3 separate regions of the Homo sapiens genome follow, and regions 2 and 3 are each linked to region 1. The links are contacts of gene promoters, found by promoter capture Hi-C in human tissues and cell types (Jung and others, 2019). All regions are on one chromosome and are shown on one strand. Each heading gives the region's core, a stretch centred on a gene start or on the middle of the fragment in contact. The rest is flanking DNA. Distances are from core to core; before and after follow the strand shown.

The links. The method cuts DNA at HindIII sites, captures the fragments that hold promoters and counts their contacts. A contact is called where the count stands out against the background at its distance.
Region 2: the fragment with the promoter of ILF3 here is called in contact with the fragment with the promoter of S1PR2 in region 1 in 1 of the 25 tissues and cell types used here (dorsolateral prefrontal cortex).
Region 3: a fragment that was not itself captured here is called in contact with the fragment with the promoter of S1PR2 in region 1 in 1 of the 25 tissues and cell types used here (liver).

Annotation. Positions count from the first base shown.
Region 1 is chr19:10,229,425-10,233,053 of GRCh38, forward strand. S1PR2 (sphingosine-1-phosphate receptor 2) reads right to left here and starts at 1,907. Exons shown (of 2, transcript NM_004230.4): 1 at 1,780-1,907. It overlaps MIR4322 (microRNA 4322), which reads left to right and starts at 989; the gene lies at 989-1,061. RefSeq lists enhancers at 402-451, 532-611, 551-1,265, 2,412-2,461 and silencers at 792-841, 1,552-2,211. The HindIII fragment of the contact is 35,191 bases long and covers 1-3,629 here.
Region 2 is chr19:10,652,288-10,655,916 of GRCh38, forward strand. ILF3 (interleukin enhancer binding factor 3) reads left to right here and starts at 2,059. Exons shown (of 20, transcript NM_017620.3): 1 at 2,059-2,200. It overlaps ILF3-DT (ILF3 divergent transcript), which reads right to left and starts at 1,585. Exons shown (of 1, transcript NR_024333.1): 1 at 1-1,585. RefSeq lists enhancers at 67-569, 570-1,071, 937-1,106, 1,347-1,816 and silencers at 1,907-2,146, 2,227-2,386. The HindIII fragment of the contact is 14,146 bases long and covers 1-3,629 here.
Region 3 is chr19:10,604,965-10,608,593 of GRCh38, forward strand. It overlaps a transcript of SLC44A2 not described here. Among named protein-coding and RNA genes, the nearest start is that of SLC44A2, 19 kb to the right of the region's middle. The HindIII fragment of the contact is 3,280 bases long and covers 740-3,629 here.

The DNA.
Region 1 (3,629 bases), core at 657-3,156:
GATTATAGGTGCCTACCACCACACCTGGCTAATTTTTGTATTTTTAGTAGAGATGGGGTTTCACCATGTTGGCCAGGCTGGTCTGGAACTCCTGACTTCAGGTGATTCACCTGCCTAAGCCTAGGAAAGTGCTGGGATTACAGGCGTGAGCCACCACGCCTGGCCTTTCCTCAAATCTTTGAATGACTGTCTCCCCATCTTTCAGAAAGGCAGGCCCTGTGGTTACAGTTCCCCCTGGTCACCCATGGAGCCCGTGGTAGCCACCCTACCTTATAGAAAGTGACCTTTCTATTTAAAGGTCACTTCCTCAGAGGGGACTCCCCTGACCCCCAGTCTACAATAGCAGCCATCTCCAAGCCTTTTCTAATCACAGAATCTCGTTTTATTATCTGCACAGCGCTTGCCACTATGGGAAACTATCATGATATCTTTCCTTTTCTGTCTGGCTTCCACCTAGACAGTCAATGCCTAAGGCCAGGGAGCAAGTCAGTTATCAGCCCCTACAGGGATGCCTGGCACAAATAAAACACTCAGAAAACGTGTGGAATGGGCAAATGAATGAATGAATGAATGAACCAATGAACAAAGGAGACCCTAGTGGGTTCCCAAGGGTGGAAACTCCTAAGCTCAGCCCAGACCCAAACAGCAACAAAGGAGCCTGGAGACACCTCTGGTCCGCGGGCAGCGCCCCCATCGCCCACCATCAACCAGGCAAAGCCCAGCGTGTCTCCATGGAGATGGCAGCAGGACCCGACCCCGTGCTGGCCCGCACTCTCGGCCTCCTTATCTGGTTTAGGAATGCGCGGTATCCACGCTCGCTCGCGCGGGAGCCACGCCTCCTCTCCCCCCCGCCCCCGAGACCGCCACACGCGCGGGGCCCCCACGTCTCCAAGCGGCACTGGAAGGATTCCTCTCCGTCCCGCCAGGGGTCCCGCCTCGAGATTCTGGGAAGACTGGGGGTGGGGGACCAGATCGCAGCAGCAGCTGCACCGCGAGTTCCGCGCCTGGCCGTGTCGCCCCACGAGGGGGACTGTGGGCTCAGCGCGTGGGGCCCGGAGCATCTGACAAGGACAGAGACAGAGGAGGGGGTGGAAATCCCCGGGTGAGTCAACCCGTGCCTGAGAAGGGGGCGAGTTCCGACGCTCCGCCCGGCTCGGGGCCACGCGAGGTCCGCGCCACGCGCGCCTTCACCCACGACCCATCCCTGAGCCGGAGTTGAAAGAGGAGGCGTCTGAGCCACGCAGTCACTTTCTCTTTCCTTACAAAACAAAGCCACGCCCCCCGCCGGGGGACCGGAGGAGGCAAACAACTTGGGGAAACCGAGGCAGAAAGCCCGACGTCCGACCGCCCTCCCCGTGGGTGCCGCCCCTTGGCTTGGAGGCTCCACGGCGCGCACATCCTTTTGCCCTCGCTCAGCCGGAGTCAGCCAGGAGGGGTGTTGCCCCCCCCCAAACACACTCCCCAAGACCCCGGTCCCCGAGCACGGCGTCCTGCCTCCCAAAGACTCCAGTCGAAAGCGCTCGGATTCAGCCTTCTCCCCGGCGCCAACTTCCTGCCGCTGAGAAAGGCGGGGAGCACAGTCTGCGGGTTCGCGGCCGAGGCAGTGGGGGCCGCCCGGATTCTTGGAGAGGGCGCACTGTGACCACCCGCTCCGTGCAGCAGGAACCCAGGCGGCGCGTGCGCGCCCCAGCCCCCCGATTGGGGCCCCTCAGCTCGGATCCCGAGACCTCAGGGGACCAGGCCCGCCTTTTCTGCCTCCTTGTCGCCACGCGCGCTCACCTGGCTAGGCCGGCCCGGCTCCCGGCCCTGGCCGGAGGGGCCTTGGCGTCTGCGTCCCCAGGGCGGCCGCGGCTGGGGCTGGGGTTGCCAGCCGGGCTCGGCTAAGTCCCGGGGCTGGGACGAGGGACAGAGGGGGGGGCGGAGAGCCGCCGCCTCTGCCCCCCGCTCGCCCCGCCCTCCTCTCCTCCCCTTTCCGGCGGCGGCTGCAATGAATTCCAGATGTGACCGGCCGGCTGGCCGGGGCGCACGCGGGGGCCGACAGGAGCTGCACGGAGGGCCCTTTGTCCGCCCCCCCCACCCGATCTCTCACTCTGCCCCTCCCAGCCCCCACCCGTGAGAACCGGCCGGCGCGAAACGTCACGCAGCCTGGTGACGTCACAGTACTCCTGGCCAGGTGGCCTCAACCTGAAACAACTGTCTTCAACCCCAGGTTACCTCTGGGCTTACCCCTGGGACCCTGGACTTGGAAGAAAACACGAGGTCACATTTATTGACTCAACAAAGAGCCTTGGAAGTACCTACTAGGTGTCAACGCAGCAAATAGGCATTAAGTGCCTACTGTGTGTCCACCCAACAAATAAATTCCTACTAAGTGCGATGTCCTGTCCCAAAGACAAAATTGATCTCTTTTTTTTTTTCTTTTTTTGAGACATGGTCTTGCTCTGTCATCCAGGCCAGAGTGTGGTGGCTCAATCATAGCTCACGGGAGCCTCAGCCTCCTGCCTCAGCCTCCAGAGTAGCTGGGACTACAGGTGCGCCATCATGCCTGGCTAATTTTTTGCAGTTTTTTGTAGAGATGGGGTCTCGCTGTGTTGCCCAGGCTGGTCTTGAACTGCTGCATTCAAGCAATCCTACTGCCTCAGCCTCCCAAAGTGCTGGAATGACAGGCGTGAGCCACTGTGCCTGACCAGTCTCTCCCTTGATAGGACCTCCAGAATTCAGGTGCTGCCCTGTTTCCCTTGGGGGACTGGGGACACTCCACACTCTTTCCTGCCTCTGTAGATCACTGTCCCCTCTGGCGGGGCCCAGTTTGTGCCTGCCTTCCAGCGTCGGGCCCAGTCTTCTATCCAGATTTCCAATTTTCACTAATTCCTGGGCATTTCTGTGTGCCTGCCTGCGGAAATGATGGACACTACACCTTCATCGAATGATGTGTGTGTGTGTGTGTGTGTGTGTGTGTGTGTGTGTGTGTGTAACCAGCAGTTCGACAACAGGATAGGAAAGCCCCTCATTCCAGCAACAAAATTTTTTTGTTTGAGACAGAGTCTTCCTTTATCTCCCAGGCTGGGGTGCAGTGGTGCCATCTCAGCTCACTGCAACCTCTGCCTCCCAGGTTCAAGCTATTCCTGTGCCTCAGCTTCACAAGTAGCTGGAAATACAGGCGCGTGCCACCACGCCTGGCTGATTTTTTTGTATTTTTAGTAAAGACAGGGTTTCACCATGTTGGCCAGGCTGGTCTCGAACTCGTGACCTCAAGTGATCCGCCTGCCTCGGCCTCCCCAAGTGCTGGGATTACAAATGTAAACCACAGCACCTGGCAACAAATATTTTTTATGCACCTACTGGGCACAGCAGTGAACAACAACAACAGCAACAAAAAGGAAAAACTCCTTGACCAGATGGATTTTTTTTTTTTTTTGAGACAGAGTCTAGCTCTGTCGCCAGGCTGGAATGTAGTGGCACTATCTCGGCTCACTGCAACCTCTGCCTCCCGGGTTCAAGCGATTCTTCTGCCTCAGCCTCCTGAGTAGCTGGGATTACAGGCATGCGCCACCATGCCCAGCTAATTTTTGTAGTTTTAGTAGAGATGGAGGTTTCACCATGTTGGCCAGGATGGTTTCGATCTCCTG
Region 2 (3,629 bases), core at 809-3,308, 420 kb after region 1:
ACTTGTTCTTGTTTTCTTTTTAACCCTTACCCCCTGCCACATAATCACATCTTTACACTTCTTTTTTTTTTTTTTTTTTTTTTTTAAGATGGGAAGTCGGAGTCTCGCTCTGTCGCCCAGGCTGGAGTGCAGTGGTGCCATCTCGGCTCATTGTAACCTCTGCCTCCCAGGTTCAAGTGATTCAAGCCATTCTTGTGCCTCTGCCTCCTGAGTAGCTGGGATTATAGGCGCACACCACCACACCTGGCGAATTTTTTTTTTTTTTTTTTTTTGAGGCTGAGTCTCACTCTATCGCCCAGGCTGGAGTGCAATGGAGCAATCTCGGCTCACTGCAACCTCCGCCTCCTGGGTTCAAGCGATCCTCCTGTCTCAGCTTCCTGATTAGCTGGGATTACAGGCGCCCTCCACCACACCCAGTTAATTTTTCTATTTTTAGTGGAGACGGTGTTTCACCATGTTGGCCAGGCTGGTCTCAAACTCCTGACCTCAAGTGATCCGCCCACCTCAGCTTCCCAAAGTGCTGGGATTACAAGCGTGAGCCACCACGCCCAGCCAGGAAACCCATTTTCAACACCTCCTTGCTCTTTTTTTTTTCTGAGACAGAGTCTCGCTCTGTCGCCCAGACTGGAGTGCAGTGGCGCAATCTCGGCTCACTGCAACCTCCGCCTGCCAGGTCAAACAATTCTCCTGCCTCAGCCTCCCAAGTAGGTGGGACTACAGGCATGTGCCACCACACCCGGCTAATTTTCTTTTGTATTTTTAGTAGAGACGGGGTTTCACCATGCTGGCCAGGCTGGTCTCGAACTCCTGACCTCGTGATCCGCCCGCCTCGGCCTCCCAAAGTGCTGGGATTACAAACGTGAGCCACCGCGCCTGGCCTTCCTTGCTCTTCTTGCTCCAAATCCTGGGAACGTCTGAATCAACAGGCGGACATCTGTCAAACCTTCCTAGCAACTACGCCTGCGGATGGCCAACCTGACCCTGGAAGACAGTGGGGTTTAGTTAAGCACAGATTGTACATCGGGGGCCTCATAAGGCGCCTGGAAGCATTCAAGAACACCACGCTTGTAAGGACAAAGCACTCGGTCACGGGCGCCTTTACTTCGGAGCTCCGCGCTGCTGCTGGACGAGCGTCCGTTGAGTCCCAGCCCCAATTTTTCCAGGAAATGGCGGTGAGCCCTCTAGTGAGATATTTTTTGGCCTGGGCCTCAGTTTCTCCATCTGTCAATGGGGGAAGGGGAAGGCGGGCTAGAGGACCCCGACCAGGTCGGCTGCAGCCTTCGGAAGCTACGGCCCAGGGACGCCACACCAAGGCAGGTCTGCGGGACGAAAGAACCCAAGAACCCGGGCGCGCATTGGCGCCGGTCCCGGGCTCAAGGGGCAGCAACGAGGAGACGCTGGACCTGGCCGTTCCTCGCACACATCTCTAACCTTCTGTGCCTCTCAAGGGAGATGGGGTGAGCATAGCCACCTCCACTGGAGCCCGAAAATCCCCGGCCGAGATACCGCCACTAAAAAGGTACACATGCGTCAAAGCCTCTCGGAGCCATTTCCGCTAACGTACTCAGGGCGACGGGCGTAAGATGGCGGCCGCGCAGGCGCAAAATGTCGCAGCCGTAGGGAGGCTCCGCCTCTGACGCTTGCCTTGCATCACGTGGTAATGGCCGCTCAAAAAACGCCTTAGCGAAAACCAGAGCGTGCCCTCGTCACGTGATGGAGGACTCCCAGTACGGCAAAGGGAAGGCGCCAAAAGTTGTCAGATGGCGAAGGAAACCGCGAAATTCGCCATTGTCACATGATGGAGCAACCTATCGAAAGCGGAGGGAAAGGTGCCGAAGTCACGTGACTACGCACGCAAACACTCCCGCTTGCACCACGTGCAACTCACGCCCACCCCCTCAGCCCCCCCCTTATCTCTTTTCGCCCCTCCCTCCCATTTGGGTTGGGCCTGCGTCGAGGCGCAACGCGGCGTCAAAGGGGGCGGGGCTTCAGCCGGTCACGTGTTCCCGCACCTCCCCGGCGCGCGCCTGCCCGCCCGCCCGCTCGCCCCCGGTCCGGACTCCTCCTCCTCCTCTTCTCGCCATTGCAGTTGGACCCAGCAGCCCGGCGCGCACCGCGTGGCTTTTGGGGGCAGACCCCGGCGGGCTGTGGCAGGAGGGCGGCGGCGGCGGCTGCGGTCGAAGAAGGGGACGCCGACAAGGTAAGCGTCAATGTGGCGGCGGCCGGGCCCGCTCCCGCCTCTGCCCCTCCCCCCGCCCGCCCTCAGTGAGATCCCCACTGAGGGTTCGCGGTGACAAGGCTGGAGGGATCCCACGCTCGCCGCCTCCGCCCGGTTCCCTCATCCCGGCGCCTGGCCCGTTCCTCCCTTGCCGGCCTCGCTCCCGCGCTCGGCCGTTAACTCTCTTCCATTGTGCGGAGGAAACAAAATGGCGGCTGCGGCGGCGGCGAGGACTCGGTGCGCGCGCAGCCGCTCCCCCCCGCACGCGGCCCCTCGGCCGGCGGCGGCGCCACGCGCGGGGGGGTGCGCGCGCACCGGGCCCCCGGCTGCCGCCTCCCCGCGGCTGGGCTTTTGTCTGTTGCGGGGGTCCTGGGGACGCGCGCACGTGCTTGGAGCACACACCCCCTCGGGTCCCGAGTTCCGCGGCGGGGCGACCCCCCTTCCTCACTCCTTCCCTACCCCCTCCTCCTCTTTGTCCCGGTCCCGCCCCCGATTCCAGGAGAGTCCCAGGTTCCCGAGGCGGGAAAAGTCGCCTCCTTTGTCCTCACAGGTCGCGGAGAGGCGGACCCCCTCCTTGGAAGCCCCTTCCCACGCGGATTGCTGAGGAAGCCTTTGTGGGTTCGTCGGGTTTCCAAATCTCTGGTCAGCCAGGCCTCTCTCAGATCAGGGTCAAAACTTGAGAGGGTTTCAGCTTTTTCTTTAGTTAGTTTGTTTTCATTGTTGAATGTTTTTCCAGATTGTTAGTATTTGCCTTCTCTAGACCGGCAATCTACTTGGGTGCAAGCCTGGGCCCCGAAACGTGGATGCTTAAAACCCATTTCTACCTTTATTTTCTCAAGTAGTTGAACGATTGAGATTCTCGAGGTTACTCATGAGGTTCTGCCCCAGTTAATTCACCGCCTGGATGAATTATTTGGGGTGTACGGCGGTCTGCATGCTCCTCCCCCAGTTCAGTGGCCAAATTTGAGGAGAATGAGGGATCTCTTCTCCACATTTCCAACATTGTTTGCCAGTTGCTGCTTAGGTGACATGGATCAGCAACGAAGCGTCGGTTTCAGTGGTTTCTTTTTCTGGACTCCGGTAATTCACTGCTGCTGAATCTTTTTCAAGATTTTGCTCTCTTTAAAATGAGTGGTGTGATGGCATATTTGTGGTCCACATGGAATCGCGAGGTGCCATCCGAAGTTAGGATTCAAATTTAGGACTTTAAGCTCTCTTTTCCTCAGGTATTTGTGGATGGGAATCTCCATGGATTGCTCAGAGTGCTGCCACTGTCCCTTGTGCGTGATGCTTTGTGTGTGGTCTCGTGGGATGTAGTTACAGTAGCCGCCCAGACTGTGAATGAAGTGTGGGAACCAGGGCCTCATTCACAGCTGGAAAGCAGGAGGAGGCCGCAGGACATTGGCAGGTG
Region 3 (3,629 bases), core at 1,130-3,629, 380 kb after region 1:
CCTTCCCAGCCAGCCCACCCTTGGCAAGAGCAGTGCAGAAAAAGATTCTGCAATCCAAAACAATAAACTCTGACCATGGAGAAATAAAACTGGGGTCGGGGGGACAGTAGTGATGCTTATTTAAAAAACGGACTCTTGCCAGGTATTGTGGCTGACACCTGTAATCCCAGCACTTTAGGAGGCCAAGGCTGGGGGATCACGAGGTCAGGAGATCGAGACAATCCTGGCTACCACAGTGAAACCCCATCTCTACAAAAAATAACAAAAAATGCCAGCCACAGTGGTTCATGCCTGTAATCCCAGCACTTTGGGAGCCAAGGCAGGTGGATCACCTGAGGTCGGGAGTTCGAGACCAGCCTGACCAACATGGTGAATTCCCATCTCTATTAAAAATACAAAATTAGCCAGGCATGGTGGTGCATGCCTGTAATCCCAGCTACTCCAGAGGCTGAGGCAGGAGAATCGCTTGAACTTGGGAGGCAGAGGTTGCGGTGAGCCGAGTTTGTGCCACTGCACTCCAGCCTGGGCAAAAAGAGTGAAATTCAGTCTCGAAATAAATAAATAAATAAATAATAAAAATACAAAAAATTAGTGTACCTATAGTCCCAGCTACTCGGGAGGCTGAGGCCGGAGAATCGCTTCAACCTGGGAGGCAGAGGTTACAGTGAGCCAAGGTGGCGCCACTGCACTCCAGCTTAGGTGACAGAGTGAGACTCCGTCTCAAAAAAAAAAAAGGACTCTTGGCCAGGCAAGGATTACAGGTTCACACCTGTAATCCCAGCACTTTGAGAGGCTGAGGTGGGTGGGTCACTTGAGGTCAGGAGATCGAGGCCAGCCTGGCCAACATGGTGAAACCCCGTCTCTATTAAAAATATAAAAATTAGCCAAGCATGGTGGTGCACATCTGTAATCCCAGCTACTTGGGAGGCTGAGACAGGAGAACTGATTGAACCTGGGAGGCAGAGGTTGCAGTGAGCTGAGATGGTGCCACTGCACTCCAACCTGGGCTATGGAGCGAGACTCCATCTCAAAAAACAACAAAAACCAGACTCTGGCTGGGCAGTCGCTGATGCCTATAATTCCAGCACTTTGGGAGTCCCAGGTGGGAGGATCGCTTGAGCCCATGAGTTTGAGACCAGCCTGGGCAATATAGTGAGACCCTGTCTCTACAAAAAAATTTAAAAATTAACTGAGCATGGTGGTGCTCAACTGTATTCCAGCTACTTGGGAGGCTGAGGTGGGAGGATTGCTTGAGCCCAGGAGGCAGAGGTTGCAGTGAGCAAAGATAGCGCCACTGCACTCCAGCCTGGATGACAGAGGAAGACCCTGTCTCAAAATAAAAAGCAGATTCCCTGGTCCCATTTGCTAGAATACAATTCAGCCTGCAGTGAGGCCCTGGCACCTGATTTAAATATATATATATACATGTGGCCGGGTGTGGTGGCTCACGCCTGTAATCCCAGCACTTTGGGAGGCCGAGGCAGGTGGATCACCTGAAGTCAGGAGTTCGAGACCAGCCTGACCAACATGGCGAAACCCTGTCTCTACTAAAAATACAAAAATTGGCTGGGCACAGTGGCTCACGCCTCTAATATCAGCACTTTGGGAGGCCGAGGCAAGTGGATCACCTGGGGTCTGGAGTTTGAGACCAACCTTACCAATATCGTGAAACCCTGTCTCTACTAAAAATACAAAAATGTTCTTGGAATAGTGACGTGCACCTGTAGTCCCAGCTATGTGGGAGGCTGAGACAGGAGAATTGCTTGAACCCAGGAGGCAGAGGTTGCAGTGAGCTGAGATCGTGCCATTTCTCTCCAGCCTGGGTAACAAGGGCAAAACTCCATCTCAAAAAATAATTATATACATATATATTAAAATATATATATACACATACACATATATATGTATGTATGTATGTATGTATGAAAAGGTAGTTACTTACGGCTATTTTTTTTTTTTTTTTTTGAGACGGAGTCTCGCTCTGTCGCCCAGGCTGGAGTGCAGTGACACGGTCTCGGCTCACTGCAAGCTCCGCCTCCCGGGTTCACGCCATTCTCCTGCCTCAGCCTCCCGAGTAGCTGGGACTACAGGCGCCCGCCACCACGCCTGGCTAATTTTTTTGTATTTTTTAGTAGAGACCGGGTTTCGCCATGTTAGCCAGGATGGTCTCGATCTCCTGACCTTGTGATCAGCCTGCCTTGGCCTCCCAAAGTGCTGAGATTACAGGCGTGAGCCACCTCGCCCGGCCTCTTGGGGCTATTTTCTTTGAAAGGGATAATACATTCACATGCTTTAAATACAAAAGATACAAAAGATGTTACGGCTTTGAGATGAAAGTTTCCCTCTTGCTCTCCCACCCCGGACCATACTTTATTCTTTGTTGTTGTTGTTGTTGTTTATACACAGGGTCTCACTCTGTCACCCAGGCTGGGCTAGAGTGCAGTGGTGCGATCATAGCTCACCGCAGCCTCAAATTCCTGGGCTCAAGTGATCCTCCTGCTTCTGCCTCCTGTGTAGTTGAGACTACGGGTGTGTGCCGTGATACTCAACTAATTTTTTTTTTTTTTTTTTTTTAGAGGCAGGGTCTCACCATGTTGCCCAGGCTGGTCATGAAGTCCTGGGCTAAAGCAATCCTCCTGTACTGGCCTCCCAAAGTGCTAGGATTATAGGCGTGGGCCACCACACCCAGCTTTTTTTTGTTTATTTGTTTTGCCTAATATACATTGGAGAGGATCTCTTGTCAACACCTCCAAAGCTTCCTCAATCATTTATTATTATTATTATTATTTTTTTTTTTTTGAGACGGAGTCTCACTCTGTCGCTCAGGCTGGAGTGCAGTGGCGTGATCTCGGCTCACTGCAAGCACCGCCTCCCGGGTTCATGCCATTCTCCTGCCTCAGCCTCCCGAGTAGCTGGGACTACAGGCGCCCGCCACTGTGCCTGCCACTGCCCCCGGCTAATTTTTTGTATTTTTAGTAGAGACGGGATTTCACCGTGGTCTCGATCTCCTGACCTCGTGATCCGCCCCCGCCTCGGCCTCCCAAAGTGCTGGGATTACAGGTGTGAGCCACTGCGCCCAGCCACCCCGTTTCTACTAAAAATAAAAAAATTAGCTGGGCATGGTGGCATGCACCTGTAGTCTCAGATACTTGGGAGGCTGAGGCAGGAGAATCGCTTGAACCCAGGAGGTGGAGGTTGTAGTGAGCCGAGATCGCGCCACTGCACTCCAGCCTGGGCAACAGAGCGAGACTCCGTCTCAAAGAAAAAAAAAAAAAAAGGAGAGACAGGGTCTTGCTATGTTGCCTTGGCTAGCCTAGAACTCCTGAGTTGAAGGGATCCTCCCGCCTCAGCCTCCCGAGTAGCTGGGACTGATCACAGGTGTGTGCCATGGCGCCCAGCACAATCTTTTTTCACGGTAGCATAGAATAGTACATTTGTGGATGGGCTGTCTTTTATTTAGCCAATCAAAGGGAATATTTATTTTAAACTTTTTTTCGAAGTTGGAAATACATACATAAAAGGGCATAGATCCTAAATATATGAGGCTGAAGGAGCTTTCACAAGGTGAACACCTTATCTGGCCAGCAACCAGATGAGGAAAAAAGAACATTTCCAGGGCCCTGTCATGT